4 separate regions of the Homo sapiens genome follow, and regions 2, 3 and 4 are each linked to region 1. Evidence: promoter capture Hi-C in human tissues and cell types (Jung and others, 2019). All regions are on one chromosome and are shown on one strand. Each heading gives the region's core, a stretch centred on a gene start or on the middle of the fragment in contact. The rest is flanking DNA. Distances are from core to core; before and after follow the strand shown. Region 1 holds the start of C21orf58 (chromosome 21 open reading frame 58). Region 2 holds the start of TRPM2 (transient receptor potential cation channel subfamily M member 2). Region 3 holds the start of PTTG1IP (PTTG1 interacting protein). Region 4 overlaps ADARB1 (adenosine deaminase RNA specific B1).

What was found. Contacts are between HindIII fragments. The study calls those that stand out against the background at their distance.
Region 2: the fragment with the promoter of TRPM2 here is called in contact with the fragment with the promoter of C21orf58 in region 1 in 1 of the 25 tissues and cell types used here (dorsolateral prefrontal cortex).
Region 3: the fragment with the promoter of PTTG1IP here is called in contact with the fragment with the promoter of C21orf58 in region 1 in 1 of the 25 tissues and cell types used here (lymphoblastoid cells).
Region 4: a contact is called between a fragment that was not itself captured here and the fragment with the promoter of C21orf58 in region 1, in 1 of the 25 tissues and cell types used here (lymphoblastoid cells).

Annotation. Positions count from the first base shown.
Region 1 is chr21:46,322,179-46,325,319 of GRCh38, reverse strand. C21orf58 (chromosome 21 open reading frame 58) reads left to right here and starts at 1,450. Exons shown (of 8, transcript NM_058180.5): 1 at 1,450-2,681. The coding sequence starts at 2,582. It overlaps PCNT (pericentrin), which reads right to left and starts at 1,164. Exons shown (of 47, transcript NM_006031.6): 1 at 1,038-1,164. The coding sequence starts at 1,091. RefSeq lists silencers at 372-831, 1,102-1,431 and an enhancer at 1,782-1,921. The HindIII fragment of the contact is 24,092 bases long and covers 1-3,141 here.
Region 2 is chr21:44,351,993-44,355,133 of GRCh38, reverse strand. TRPM2 (transient receptor potential cation channel subfamily M member 2) reads right to left here and starts at 1,513. Exons shown (of 32, transcript NM_003307.4): 1 at 1,269-1,513; 2 at 398-486. The coding sequence starts at 1,433. RefSeq lists enhancers at 1,038-1,087, 1,248-1,297. The HindIII fragment of the contact is 21,861 bases long and covers 1-3,141 here.
Region 3 is chr21:44,871,976-44,875,116 of GRCh38, reverse strand. It overlaps PTTG1IP (PTTG1 interacting protein), which reads left to right and starts at 1,427. Exons shown (of 6, transcript NM_004339.4): 1 at 1,427-1,615. The coding sequence starts at 1,501. RefSeq lists enhancers at 470-1,147, 1,305-1,805, 1,806-2,306 and a silencer at 1,064-1,713. The HindIII fragment of the contact is 14,261 bases long and covers 1-3,141 here.
Region 4 is chr21:45,084,905-45,088,045 of GRCh38, reverse strand. The region is part of intron 1 of ADARB1 (adenosine deaminase RNA specific B1); the gene reads right to left. Among named protein-coding and RNA genes, the nearest start is that of ADARB1, 12 kb to the right of the region's middle. The HindIII fragment of the contact is 5,819 bases long and covers 1-3,141 here.

The DNA.
Region 1 (3,141 bases), core at 201-2,700:
GCCTCAGCCCTTCCCCGGCCTAGCCCCGCGTCCCCTGTCCGCCGTGCCCGGGAGCCCCGCTCTTCCCCAGCACCCCAGCCAGAACATCCTGGGGGGGAGCGGCGCGCACCTCGCAGAGGCCGGCCTGCTCCCGCGGTTCCGCCTCGCGCTTTCGGGACTCCCTTTCTCCTGCCCCCGAGTCATGGGCTCTGCGCGCTTTATTCCCACGAAACCTAGGACAGTGGCCATCAAACCGAGCGCTTTTTCACGGAGAAACCCGGGGCGGGAGAAAGACGGGAGCGCGTCCCTTGAAGGCGCCCGGCGCCAGCGCCGCGTGGGTTCCCGGCAGCGTACGCCAGGCCCGGACGGGCAGGACGCGAGCCCAAGGGCGCGGGAAGAAGACGGCGGCCGGGAGCGCCGCGGGGGCCTTTCACACAGTAAGGACTGCAACGCCGCGAGAAACGCGCGGGGAAAGCATCTCCGACGGACGAGGCGAAGGCGCACCCTGGGGAGGCGCTGCAGGCCACCCGCGCCACGCCCCCGGCCCCGGCCGCGCAGGAAACTGGCCCTAGACCAAGCAGCCACCCGAATACCGGCCGCCCGCCCCAGGCCACCCGGTCCCGGAGGACGCGGGAGCCACTGGAAGATCCAGCCTGGGGTCCAGCGCCTGCCGCGCCCCACCCCCTCCGTGCAGCCACGCCACGCCCCTGTAGCCCCGCCCTGCAGCCACACCCCGCCCCGGCGTGCACCGCGCCCAGCCCGCGCCCCACCCCCCCCGACGCAGGCGCAGCCCCGCCCCGGCCCGCCCGAGAGGCGCCGCGCGTCCCGGCCGCTGATTGGCTGTGGCCGCGGCGGGGGCGGGACCTGGCGGAGAGCGGCGGATTCAAGATGGCGGCGGCCAGGAGGCGGCTTCCAGCGGAGCCGGCGGGAAAAAGCGAGACCTCCGCGGCGGCTTCCGCCGGACCGCGTCCTCTCCTGGCAGGGGGCGGTGGCGGGCACCGGAGCCGCCCTTAGGACTTCACGCCAGAGCAGCTAGAGAAGAAGCCCCTAATGTTTACCTTCGTCCTCCCGGCCTCCACCTTTCTGCGCCGCTGCTCTTGCTCAACTTCCATCTCCCTCAGACTCCGCGCGGGCCGCCCGGCGGTGACGGGGCTGACACAGAGCAGCCTTCGCTCTATTTACACTCCCTCCCCCGCGCTTGGGCTCGCCCTCCCCCCGCGACAACTGTCACGCAGCCGCGGCCCCGCCCCCGACACGCGCCGCCAATCAGGGGGCTGCGTTTCCGGTCTCGCGCACGCGCGCTCTGGGCGGTGCAGCCTGGGCGGAGCCCCGCCCTTTACGCTCGCCGGCCACAGATTGGTGCGCTCACGTACCCGCCTCCTACGGCAGGACCAGTAAGCGGAAAGCGGAGGCCTGGCGCCCGCTGTGATTGGCCGATTTTAAAATCCCCTGCCAGGCTGGCCGAGCGGCAAAAAGTTCGCGCTGCTGGTCCCGCGCGGGCGGCCCCTGGGCTTTGTGTCCACCAGGACAGCGGGCCGGGCTCCCTGCAGGCGCGGGCGGCGCCGAACGGTGCTCAGCAACCACCCGGACAGGGCCAGGCCGTTTTCTCCCGCTCAGGCATTAGTCGTTGGCTGTGGGCCGCCGCGGGAAGTTGAGGCCTACCACGGAGGAGGCTGCTGAGGTGGATCTCAGGGGATCCGCAAGGGCTCCCTCACCCTTGCCGGGACCCTGGGAACCCGAAACAAAATCCTACGCCACCAGCCCGCCGAATGCGCCCCCTCGGCCGGGGGTCCTGGGTCTTCAGAGAAGAACTCGGCCGAATGCGGTCAGAAAGCCCGCGAACCGCCTGGACCTGCAGGCCCCGCCGCTTGGAGCTCCCGCCTTTCCCGACCGAGCCCGTGTCTGCTCGTGTGTCTCACTGATGTCTTAGGTCTCAAAAAAAAAAGAAAAGAAAAGGTTTTTAGTAGACAGAAGAGAAATGGGGCCGTGGGTTCGTGGTCCCAGGGGGAAACTGACGTCGCATGAGGTCGTCGTCCCTCAGCTTGAGCTCAGCGGAACATAAGCTTGCAGAGGTGGAAACCACGGAAGGTTTGGGTGTCTTGGAGCTCTCTGGACACCGAAGCCCGGACACAGTCCCGGGGTCCGCACCGCCTGTGACCTGTGGCGGGACCGCCGGGGTGGGCGTTTTCTCAGCTGGCGCGCGCGTAGGTGGAACTTGGGAAACTAACTGGAGCGAAGTGGCAAAAAACCAAGACAGGGCCGGTGACCTCGCGCAGGCCGTCCTTAACTGTGGAGTATTCCTTCAGCTAACCCCTTTATTTCATGTGTCCAAGTCTGGTTTCTGGGTTTCTTTGTAGTCCTCCGGGCCTGTTCGTGCGCCTTCACTTGCAAAAGGTTCGTCGTGGAGGGCCGTGTGCTTGTTTGCAGCAGTAACGATGCCCTTCCCGAGCGTGCTGGAGTGGCTCCTCGCTGACGCAAGCTCACCTTGCAGCCTCCTCAGCAACTGCAACTTAAACGCGCCCTCAGGAAGCCCTGGAATCTCGCTCAGAATTTTTTTTCTTTTTTTGAGACAGTCTCGCTGCGACGCCCAGGCTATAGCGCAATGGCGCGATCTCGGCTCCCTGCAACCTCCCTCAGGAAGCCGTGGAAGCTCGACCGCCAGAAACTTCCTTCTCCTGACTCAGGCCACAGTCTTCTGTGTGGTGAGCGGGGTGTCCAGCGGTCTCCTGGTTCCCAGACTCGGAATTGGGTGGTTTGAGCAAACTCTGGGCAGTGGGCTCATTAGAGCAGGGGCCAGGCAGGCAACACAGCCAAGCGAGCAGGGGCTGCACCCACAGGATCACACTTTCCAGGAACAGAGACCCAGACCGCGCCTGAATCTCACAACTGTTACGTGTTACAATACATTTACAACTGTGGGACTGAGGGGATGTGCCCAGGTTTGCCTAGACTGTGTTCCTCAGAACCCCAGAGTCGTTTCTGTGGACATCCTAGAGAGGTTCTGCTAATGTTGGACTTGGGTCTTATTTCAGTTCTTTTTTCTTTTCTTTTTTATAGGCAGGGTCTCAGTCTGTCACACAGGCTAGAGTGCAGTGGTGAGACCACCGCTCATTGCAGCCTCAACTTCCCCGGGCTCAGGTGATTCTCCATGTCAGCCTCCTG
Region 2 (3,141 bases), core at 264-2,763, 2.0 Mb after region 1:
GCCATGGACTCTCCCTAAGGCCCTTCCAGTTCCTGGACCCTGGGACTCTCTCTCTTGGGGTGGGGGCAGGTGTGGAAATGAGAGGATTAGAGGATGCATCTGTGTTCACACCACTGGGCCTCGCCGCGCGACAGTGCCCTTATGACCCTGAACAAGTCACCTAAACTCTGCACTTTGGTCCCTGCACCTGCGAGGCAGGATGAGGGTCAACTGTCCCCGACAGGAGGCTTGCAAGGGTTAGGTGGAAATGCTCTGTGGACTCTAAGCCTCGTATGGAGACAGAGGTATCTCCAGTGACCCTTCACTGAGGCCCTGAGGGGTCTTGGCCTGATCAGCTACTCCATGTGGGATCGGAAGGAAGAAGTCAGAGGTCTTACACACAAATCACGTCACTTACCCAGCATCAGACAGTTTGGAACTTTCCACAAAATACACGCATTCTTTCTTCTTGATGTTTTCAGGAATCCACGAACTGAGGCTTTCTTGCTGAAGGTAAAGACAGCACACTGAGATCTTCCAACATTCGAAAGAGCACACCCAGCCCCCTGGAGACACATCTGAGCTCCTTGAGGAGCTTTCACACTATTTGCTTGAAGGAAGGAAGCCTGCGCGACCCTGAGCCAAAGATTAGAAGCACCTTGCCAAGACTCTCCGGTGGGGATTCAGGAGGGAGGAATGAATCTAAGAAATCATTTCCTCTTGGGACCATTTTGAATGTGCGCGCACTTTACAGTTTCTACAGCACCACCACCTTCCTTGGGAACAACATGGTGTGGTGGAAAACGTGGAGGCTGGGGATCTGGGGACCTGGATCTTGCACCATCGGAAAAAGGGCAGCCACCCTCCTGCCTGCCTGGCAAGGGGACTGCAAGATGCCATGTGCTTTCAACATACTTGTGTCTTTGTATCCAGGGCTTTGGGGAAAGCTAGCCCAGGCCCAGGCCCTCCCAATCGGATAAAGGATGTGAAATCATTATGCAACAAGGTAAGCACGGGTAACAGATTTCCAGGACTCTAGCGCAACATTTTTGAGTTAACCCGGTGATTTCCCAATCAGACCAACCATGGGAAATGGTCATGCAACCCACAGAAGACGAGACACGCATCACCCTCCCCAGTTCTGTTCTCCCAAAGGTATGGTTGGGCAGGAGCCCCCAAGGTCAGCAGACCCTTTCCCACCCCCGTCGTCACAGCCTCAAGCTATGACCTGCCCAACGGTGACCTCCGTGGCCACGTGCCAACTGCAGGCTGACCAGCAGAAAGCCTACCTTGTCATTGTTGCCGAAGGGGCACTGTAGCCTCCAGCTCTTGAAGAGGCTGCTGTTGCTGCGCCGGAGATTGGAGACCATCCCCAGGTCAGTGACCCTTCTGGGCAGCCCCTCAAAGCCCTCCTCCTGCTCCGAGCCAGCTTTCCTCAGGGCTGAGGGCTCCATTCTGAGACCCCCACGCCAGCTGCAACCAGGCCTGCTGCCCTCAGGACAGTCCTCTCTCCAGCTCGCTACACTGGGGTTCTAGAGACACATGGGGTGGTTGCTGAAATAGATCAGAGACAGGAAGATGAGGCTGATGTTCTGAGAGGACCTGGCCACATGCTTCCTCATGTGAAGCCCTCATCCGGTTCTCTTCATCAGCCTGCACATGTTCCCAGCTGCCTGAGCTGTGTCCCTTGGCTGGGGCCCCCGGACACTCTGGGGGAGTACATGCACATGCGGGGGTCCCAGCGGCCGTTCATAATGGTAACAACCTCAGGTGACTGCAGGGCCAGAGAAAGAGCTCCCTCCCCCACGGGTGCAGCTGCACTGAGCACCGCACAGGGAAGTCTCCACCGCCAGCACCAGCTGCCAGCGACATGGTTTCGCAACTGTACAATTCTGCACAGCTCCTGCTTCCAGACACCAGTGACTACTTTCATATTCCAAAATTTTTTTAAATAGCCCTCACTGTCCACAAAGGAAGTTTCTTTTTCTTCTTGTTTTTTGAGACGGAGTCCCACTTTGTCGCTCAGGCTGGAGTTCAGTGACGCAGTCTCGGCTCACTGCAACCTCGGTCTCCCTGGTTCAAGTGATTCTCCTGCCTTAGCCTCCCCAGTAGCTGGGATTATGGGCGCCAATCACCACACCCTGCTAATTTTTTTTGTATGTAGTAGCAACAGGGTTTCACCATGTTGGTCAGGTTGGTCTCAAACTCCTGACCTCAGGCGATCCACCAGCCTCCGCTTCCCAAAGTGCTGGTTTTACAGGCGTGAGCCACTGTGCCCAGCCTAGAAAGGAAGTTTTGGGGAGTACCACATCTCTCCACTCCAGGAAAAAGACAATAATTCAAATGAATCTTTTTCTCTCATATCCTTTCCCCCTGGCTCTGATGTGGCCTTCATCACCGAGGCCACAAGAAGCCACCGGATGACTGCCCTCCCTTTACAAATGAGAAACATAAGCATGTTCAAGCCCTGCGGGGCCTCCCTGAGTCCCTGACACCCACAGTGTTCTCATGAGGTCATCCATGGTCATCCCCTGCCACTGCCCCAAAGGTGTCAAGGGGAGGGTTGCTGGGATGCAAAAGATCTGACTGGAATCCCCCCTCATCCCTGCCCTGAAACCAGATCTCTGGCCACGTCCTCTCCACTACACACGACGGTCACTGTCAGACAAGCCTTTGCTCTGCCGTCCCCTCATCACATTAGGTGACTGAGCCCCTCTTCGGGGCCACGCAGCTCGAAGCTCGGTGCCGGGCTCTTGGGGCTGAGCTACGGGCTGCTGTCCTGGGGCGGGCACTCTCAGGCAACCCCACCTCCCCCTCTCCCTCCTCCCCTTTGCCCCTTGGCCACACTCATTCCGAGACCCGTAAACTTCACTGGCAGGATGGCAGGGGTGCCCTGCCCGGCCTTTTCCTGCAGTTCTCAGAGCAGATGTTGTGCCGCATGCCAGTGGGGTCTTTCCAGGGCCATGAGCTGTCCCCGCAGCCACTGGCCCGGCTTCACAACCAGCTTCCGAGGGAAGCAGAGGGGCAGAGATGTCCCCAGTGGCAGGAGGAAGAGGAGGCTCTAGAGAGATCGCAGTGGCACCGCAAGGGGACCCAGACTGCAGGTGGCTCCCCAGGCAGGCGGTCCACCCTGCACGGGATGAGGATGGCTCCACGCTGGAA
Region 3 (3,141 bases), core at 178-2,677, 1.5 Mb after region 1:
GCCCTGGGAGGCTGCCAGAGACCCCGGCCAGGTTCCCAGGCGGTCCGGTGAACCAAGGCCGCTCCGCGGGTGCCAGCGCTCCGAGTGCCAGAGAAGTGGCTCGGATCACAAGAGGCTGGCTTCGGAGCCATCTGCAGGCGCCCAAATCCCAACCTAAAATCACCACAGGGTCAGAATCTAATGTAAGGGGGGGTTATTCAAAGGCAGTTGGAGGCTGGCCCACCCGGAAACACCGGCTCCAGAGGAATGGAGTCCGCCCTCGGAAGCGGGGAGGGGAAGGGTGCCCTCGGGCAGGCAGAGGCGGAGGCTTTTAGCAGGACCGCGGCGTCCTTCCTACGAGGTGGGCGCAGTCCTCGCGTTTGATGGACGACGGGCAGTGCCTGCTTCAGGGAAGGGTGCGGCAGTCACGGTTTCCCGTCTTCTGGTCTAAGCAGTGCAGAAAACAGGGAAGTTCATCTACAAGGGTCATGAACTAAGAAGGCAGGAGGTTTCTGTCCCCGGCACCGGCGAATCCCGGACCCGAGAAAGGAGCTACGGGCGCACAGAAGCGGGCGGCCCCGGCTCTCGCGGGGCTTAAAGCGCGCAGTGTGTTCGGGTTCACACCTCTAAATGTATTTTTGCCATTTCTTAAGTAGCCTTAAAAATGTCCGTCACTATTTAGTCCTTTTATCAACCGAGGGGCCCGGAAGGCCGCAGCGAGGGCGTCGGCGAGAAGCCATGGAGGAGAAACGGCGCTTCTCTCGGGAGTTTAGGTGGCAGCTTCAGCAGCACACGTTTCAGCCCATTCTGGGGCCGTTTCTAGTGTGGTTAACGTACAAAAATAAACAAATCCCCTAAAAGTCCCACGCGGACATCGGCGGGAGCCCAGGGCCGGACGCCGCGGTGTGGAGCGAGGGCGCCGGCGCGGACTATGAGGGCCCACCGCGCCTCGTCCAGGGCTCACTTAAGAGCAGCGTGAGCAGCGCTTGGGACCGCCGTCCGGGACGCCCGCAGCCCTTTAGGATGGAGGCCACCGTGACCTCCGCCACCGAAGCACCGCGCTCCCCTAGTCCCCTCAGCCGGTCGCCGTTCCCCGCCGCGCAGGCGCAGGAGCCGCGGCGAGCCCCTCGGTCACGCCTCGCCCCTCGGTCACGCCTCGCCCCTCGGTCACGCCTCGCCCCTCGGTCACGCCTCGCCCCTCGGTCACGCCTCGCCCCTCGGTCACGCCTCGCCCATCCGCGCCGCGCAGGCGCACTGAGCCTCAGCCGCTCTCCTCGCTACCAGGCTCCTTTCCTCTATCGCGCAGGCGCACTGAACCTCAGCCGCGCCGGGAGGCGAGCCCGTTGGCGAGGGGCGGGGCAGATGGCGAGGGAGCGGGGCGAGCTGCTTTTTGAGGCTGCGCACTCGCATGGCCCCACCTCGCAGGTCCACTTCCGGCGCCGCGGCTGTTCCGGGCGGAGACCGCTTGTGCTGGAGTCGGAGTTGTAACGCTCCACTGACTGATAGAGCGACCGGCCGACCATGGCGCCCGGAGTGGCCCGCGGGCCGACGCCGTACTGGAGGTTGCGCCTCGGTGGCGCCGCGCTGCTCCTGCTGCTCATCCCGGTGGCCGCCGCGCAGGAGCCTCCCGGAGCTGGTGAGGGCGCCGGGGCGGGCGGGGCCGCGAAGGGGGCGGGGCGGCTGGTGGGTCCAGGTCGGGGTCGGGGTCGGGGTTTCGGCCAGGGCGCTGGGCTCGGCGGGCGGCCTGGGCCCACGGTCGCAGGCAGCGCCCCGACGGAGGCTCCTCGAGGGTCACGCCCGTTTGGCGGCCGCGGGAGCTGCCGTCGCGGCTGGGGCGCGGGCAGGGGAAGAGCCGTCTTTGTCTTTGTCTTTGTTTTGTCCAGTCGCTGCGGCCGCTCCTCGCGCGTGGCCTCGGGTTGGCCCTCGCCCGGCAGGCGGGACGCTTGGCACCTGCGGCCTCCCTTAGCCTCACTGCGACCCCAAACAGCACTCCTCGGGTTCGATCCCGAGCCGGGAAGCCGGCTCACGACGTGTTCGAGGTCGCACAGCTGGTCGGGGGCAGGCCGGGATGGCGGCCGCAGGCCCCTGCAGGGTGATGGGGCCGCGGCCGGTGTGTCTCTACAGCCGCCGGCGTTCACGCCGCCACTCCCTCCCGGCCGCAGTTCCACGCACAGCAGCGAACGCTCGCACTTATGCCTTAGAAAGGAAGGCGTCCCCAAAGCCAGGCTGTAGCATCTGATTTTGAAGCAAGCTGATTGCGGTTCTACGCTGTCCAGACGCGCAGGTGGCATTCTTCATCGTTTATCCCGTCTGCACCAGGCCCTGCGGCCACAGTGGTGACCGACAGCCAGAGCTCCTATCCAAGAGGAGCTGAGTCCCCGGGAGGCTGACCAAGAAAGAAGCAGTGAGGGCGCGGGGGCTGGGGGAGGAAAGTGCATGACAGGAGACTCAGAGTTCCAGAAACCGGCAGTGTTTATAGAGGGTGGCTTCCTGTGGGGCTGGGCCTCCAGGGCCTGGTGGGCTGCGGGAAAATCCAGCAGGTTCTAAGCTGGAGAGTGTCATGGTTGGACCTGTTTCACAATGTCATGCTGGCTTCCGTGTGTGGAGTTTCCAGGTGACCACTAGTGGTGGGGAATAGTGCCACCTTAACTTCAGTTTCCTGACCCTTACAATTAGGGTTGACCTGGGCCCAGCTTGAGGGGCTAATACTTTTCTCAGCTCTTGTTAGCCCAGGCTCTGTCAGTGTCTGTTTAGCATAGTAGAGCACCTTTTCTTTTTGTGACCTTATGGAATGTTTATTCCGATGCAGGATTATTTGTGTTTCTTCTTACCTGCCTCCAAGTGTGCTTAGGGTTTGTGACGTTAGCAATGCAGCTGCCTTGAAGTTTGTTAGTCAAGGAGGCCAGTGGGACTGTACTGGGAACTTTTGGCCCAGATTGAGTTCTAAGCGCAAATGTGCAGTGAATACGTTTCCACAAACAGAATGGGCGTCTGCAGGCAGAGTGTGTGATTCACTGGCAACTGTATCAGTGGCTCGGGGGTGTGTTTGCTTGCATTGTGAAAGCGGGAGTGTCAGGAAAACAACCATGAGGTTTTGTTTGACTGTGATTCCTCCTGCTCTGCACTGCTGAAGGGTGCAGAGATGGGTGTGGACGAGTGGAG
Region 4 (3,141 bases), core at 252-2,751, 1.2 Mb after region 1:
CCATCTTCCTTTTGCTATTTGTAACTTCTTCCTGGGACAGTGAGAAACCTGGCTCTCATTATCCACTACGATTCTGCTTATTTGTTCAATCCCCACATACACATAAAGTCGTTTCACATTGCTCACCATTAACACTGAGAAAAAAATTTACTACTATTTTGTACAGTTCTCTTCAGCCTCACAGAATCCAGTCAACATTATCATTTTCCCAAATAAGGTTAACACTTTCCTTTCCACCCCCTTTGCTGTGGCCCTGCCGCTTTGTACTACAGTGAGATGTGTGTTTTCCGCTTATATTTCATTTTGGGTCCCCCACATCCTGGCTGATATTAACCATCTATTTTACTTTGGAGTATATGAAGTATTGCTGTGGTTTCAAGAGCTGGGCCACACTAAAAGGTGTACTGAGAGCAGCACTGCACCCCACCTATGACCTGGCACCCACTCCACTTCCCTGCCCCCTCGCCCTCTGCACCCCACCTATGACCTGGCACCCACTCCTCCTCCGTCCCCTGGCCCTCTGCAGTCACCATCTCTTTTGTTTCTGGCTCTGCCCTCCTGTATCTCCTCTGCACAAGTGTGCAGGGAGCGTGTGTCTTCCTGCATCCCCTTCTTCTCACATCAAGGGCAGCATTTAGATGTTCTTTGGTACTTGCCTCATTCACATCCACGTGCCCTGGAAACCACCTCAAACCAATTCACAGAGGTCATCCTCAACAGTGGATGTGGTTGTGTGGCTGTACTAGAGTTTACTCAACCCTCTCCTGCATATGGATATTTAGGTTATTCCGAATGTATTTTCACATTGTTGGAGGTCTATCTTCTGGAAGGATTCCTAGAAGCAGAATTGCTGGGTCAAAGGGTAAGTGTTTCTGTGGTGTTGTAGGCTGAATGTGGTTTTAATATGCCCAACCGTACTTCACCGACTTCCTCTTCTGATAAGTGGGGGGAAAACATCAAACACCCGGTAAGAACTCATCTGCTGAGGACCTAATAGTGTGCACAACACAGGTGGTCAGCTTAAGAAATGCTAATAGCTTCTGCTCGACATTATAACCATATTTCATCCTATAGTAGGCTCATACAATTCAAGAAGCACAATGCACATCACAGAGACAGACTTCAAGAGCAAGCCAAATAAATGGCCCTTGCTAGCATTATCAGTATCAAACAAAGGCTTCTGTCTTAAACTCCATTTCGAAGCTCCTACGAACTCCTAGGAATCTACCTATGACAAATGAAAATACACATCCACACGCAGACATGCTTGCTAATGTTCAAAGTCACGTGATTCATAATAGCCAGAATGCAGAAACAACCCAAAGTCCATCGCTGGAGTGGAATAAACGAACACGCTACGCCAATACGACTAAAAGGAACAAATTACTGATATGTTCTACAACACACGGATGAACCCGAAAAACATGTTAAGTGAAAGCCTGATGCAAACGATGACACAGGACATGAGCTGCTTCCCATGAAATATCTGCAAGGCACATGTGGAAACAGCAGGCAGGCTGCCTGAGCGGTTGCCTGAGGCTGGGCTGGGTGCGCGAATCAACTGCAGACAAGCACAGGGAACATTTGAGGTGACAGGAGTGTTCAAGAACTAGACAGTGGTGATGTCTGCACAACTCAGACATTCAGAAAATCACTGAATTGTCCTCTTAGAGAGGGTGCATTTCATGGCAGCTGTTTAAAACAAAACAAAACCGCCTCAAAATGCCTTTCCTATGGTTTATTTTCTCCCCGTATTTTCCCAGAGCATTCTAAAAAGGTGAAGACTCAAAGCATTATTTGATCATAACTTGCAATTTGCATTGTTTCCTTCAACAATCAATAAGCCCAGGAAATCATCTAGACAAATTCTCAATGCAGTGTGAAAAGGCACACAGGGCAGGTCTTCTGTCCAACAGCACCGCCCTATCCCGGCTTCACACATAGCAAGCAGTGTCTGGCAAATCAAAGCCTGCCTTTTCCATTCTACACCGTAGCTCAAAATCATTGTCCAGGAAAGGAAAAAACCTTCCTTTTCCTACAGCAAGGGCTTCCAGCAATAAACAGAACTAAAATCTATCAGGCACTTCTTGCCTGTGCCACACATAACACGTGCCTATGGCTGATTCGTGCATGGAGAATTCAAGGTGAGCTGCACGGGAGGCTCTATGTCAGTTCTGCGTGAGAGGCACATGCTCAATGACGTCCTTTAGGTTCATGTGACACCAGCCTTTTCTGTGTCAACAGAATCAATTCCTCACAGTTTCATTAGAGGGATAAAATTAAAGAATTGAAAGCTTCACTATGTAACAAGATAAATATGTCACTCATTCACCTGCATGTGGGTGAAAACATCTACTACGTGACAACAAAAAGTGCAGAGGGAAAAAATTCCAGAGTAGAAGTTAGAAGATGTCACTTTTAACCCTGCTCTGCTCCTGGGTACATACATACATAGTATGTAAAGGACTCAAATTCAAAATGACCAAGACTAATAAATATGCATTTGATGTGACTACTTTCATTCATATCGAGAATGGAGTAGACGTAAAGAGTCCAATCATTGCTGTTTAACTGCAGCCACGGCGCTGAAGTTTCTGGAAACTGTAACCTCTGTTTAAATCGACTTCACACTATTTATGCTTAGGTCTAAACCAAGTGAAATGTGTAGATTAACACTAAGTAGTAAGTGTTTTCCACCATTCTTCATGTAGAGGTCAGAGGTCACGTCTGTAGCTCCCCAGCATCTTTTGAATCTCCTCTCTCTACCTGGGGATATCCCTAAGACAAAAGCCAGAATTCTATTTCCTGTTCTCACAGCCAGGGTGCACTCGGCCAGTCAGATGAACCAACACGAAACCTCACCTCAAATGATAGAAATTTGAGGGAGCAGGTCCCTAGTGGAAACTATTCCTGAAAAGGGAAAACAATGACACAAGAGAGGGCTTGGGGATGCAGCAGCTGGCAGAGGGCCCACCAGCGGCATCCGGCAGCCCAGGCTCACTGCACATGATCCCAGGGTAACCAGGTACTGTGTCTGACTCCAGAAGCCCGGGCTCACTGCACATGGTCCCAGGGTAACCCAGTATTGTGTCTGACTCCAGAGCCTCACGAAGACTACGAGAAGCCACTTTACATTCTTGA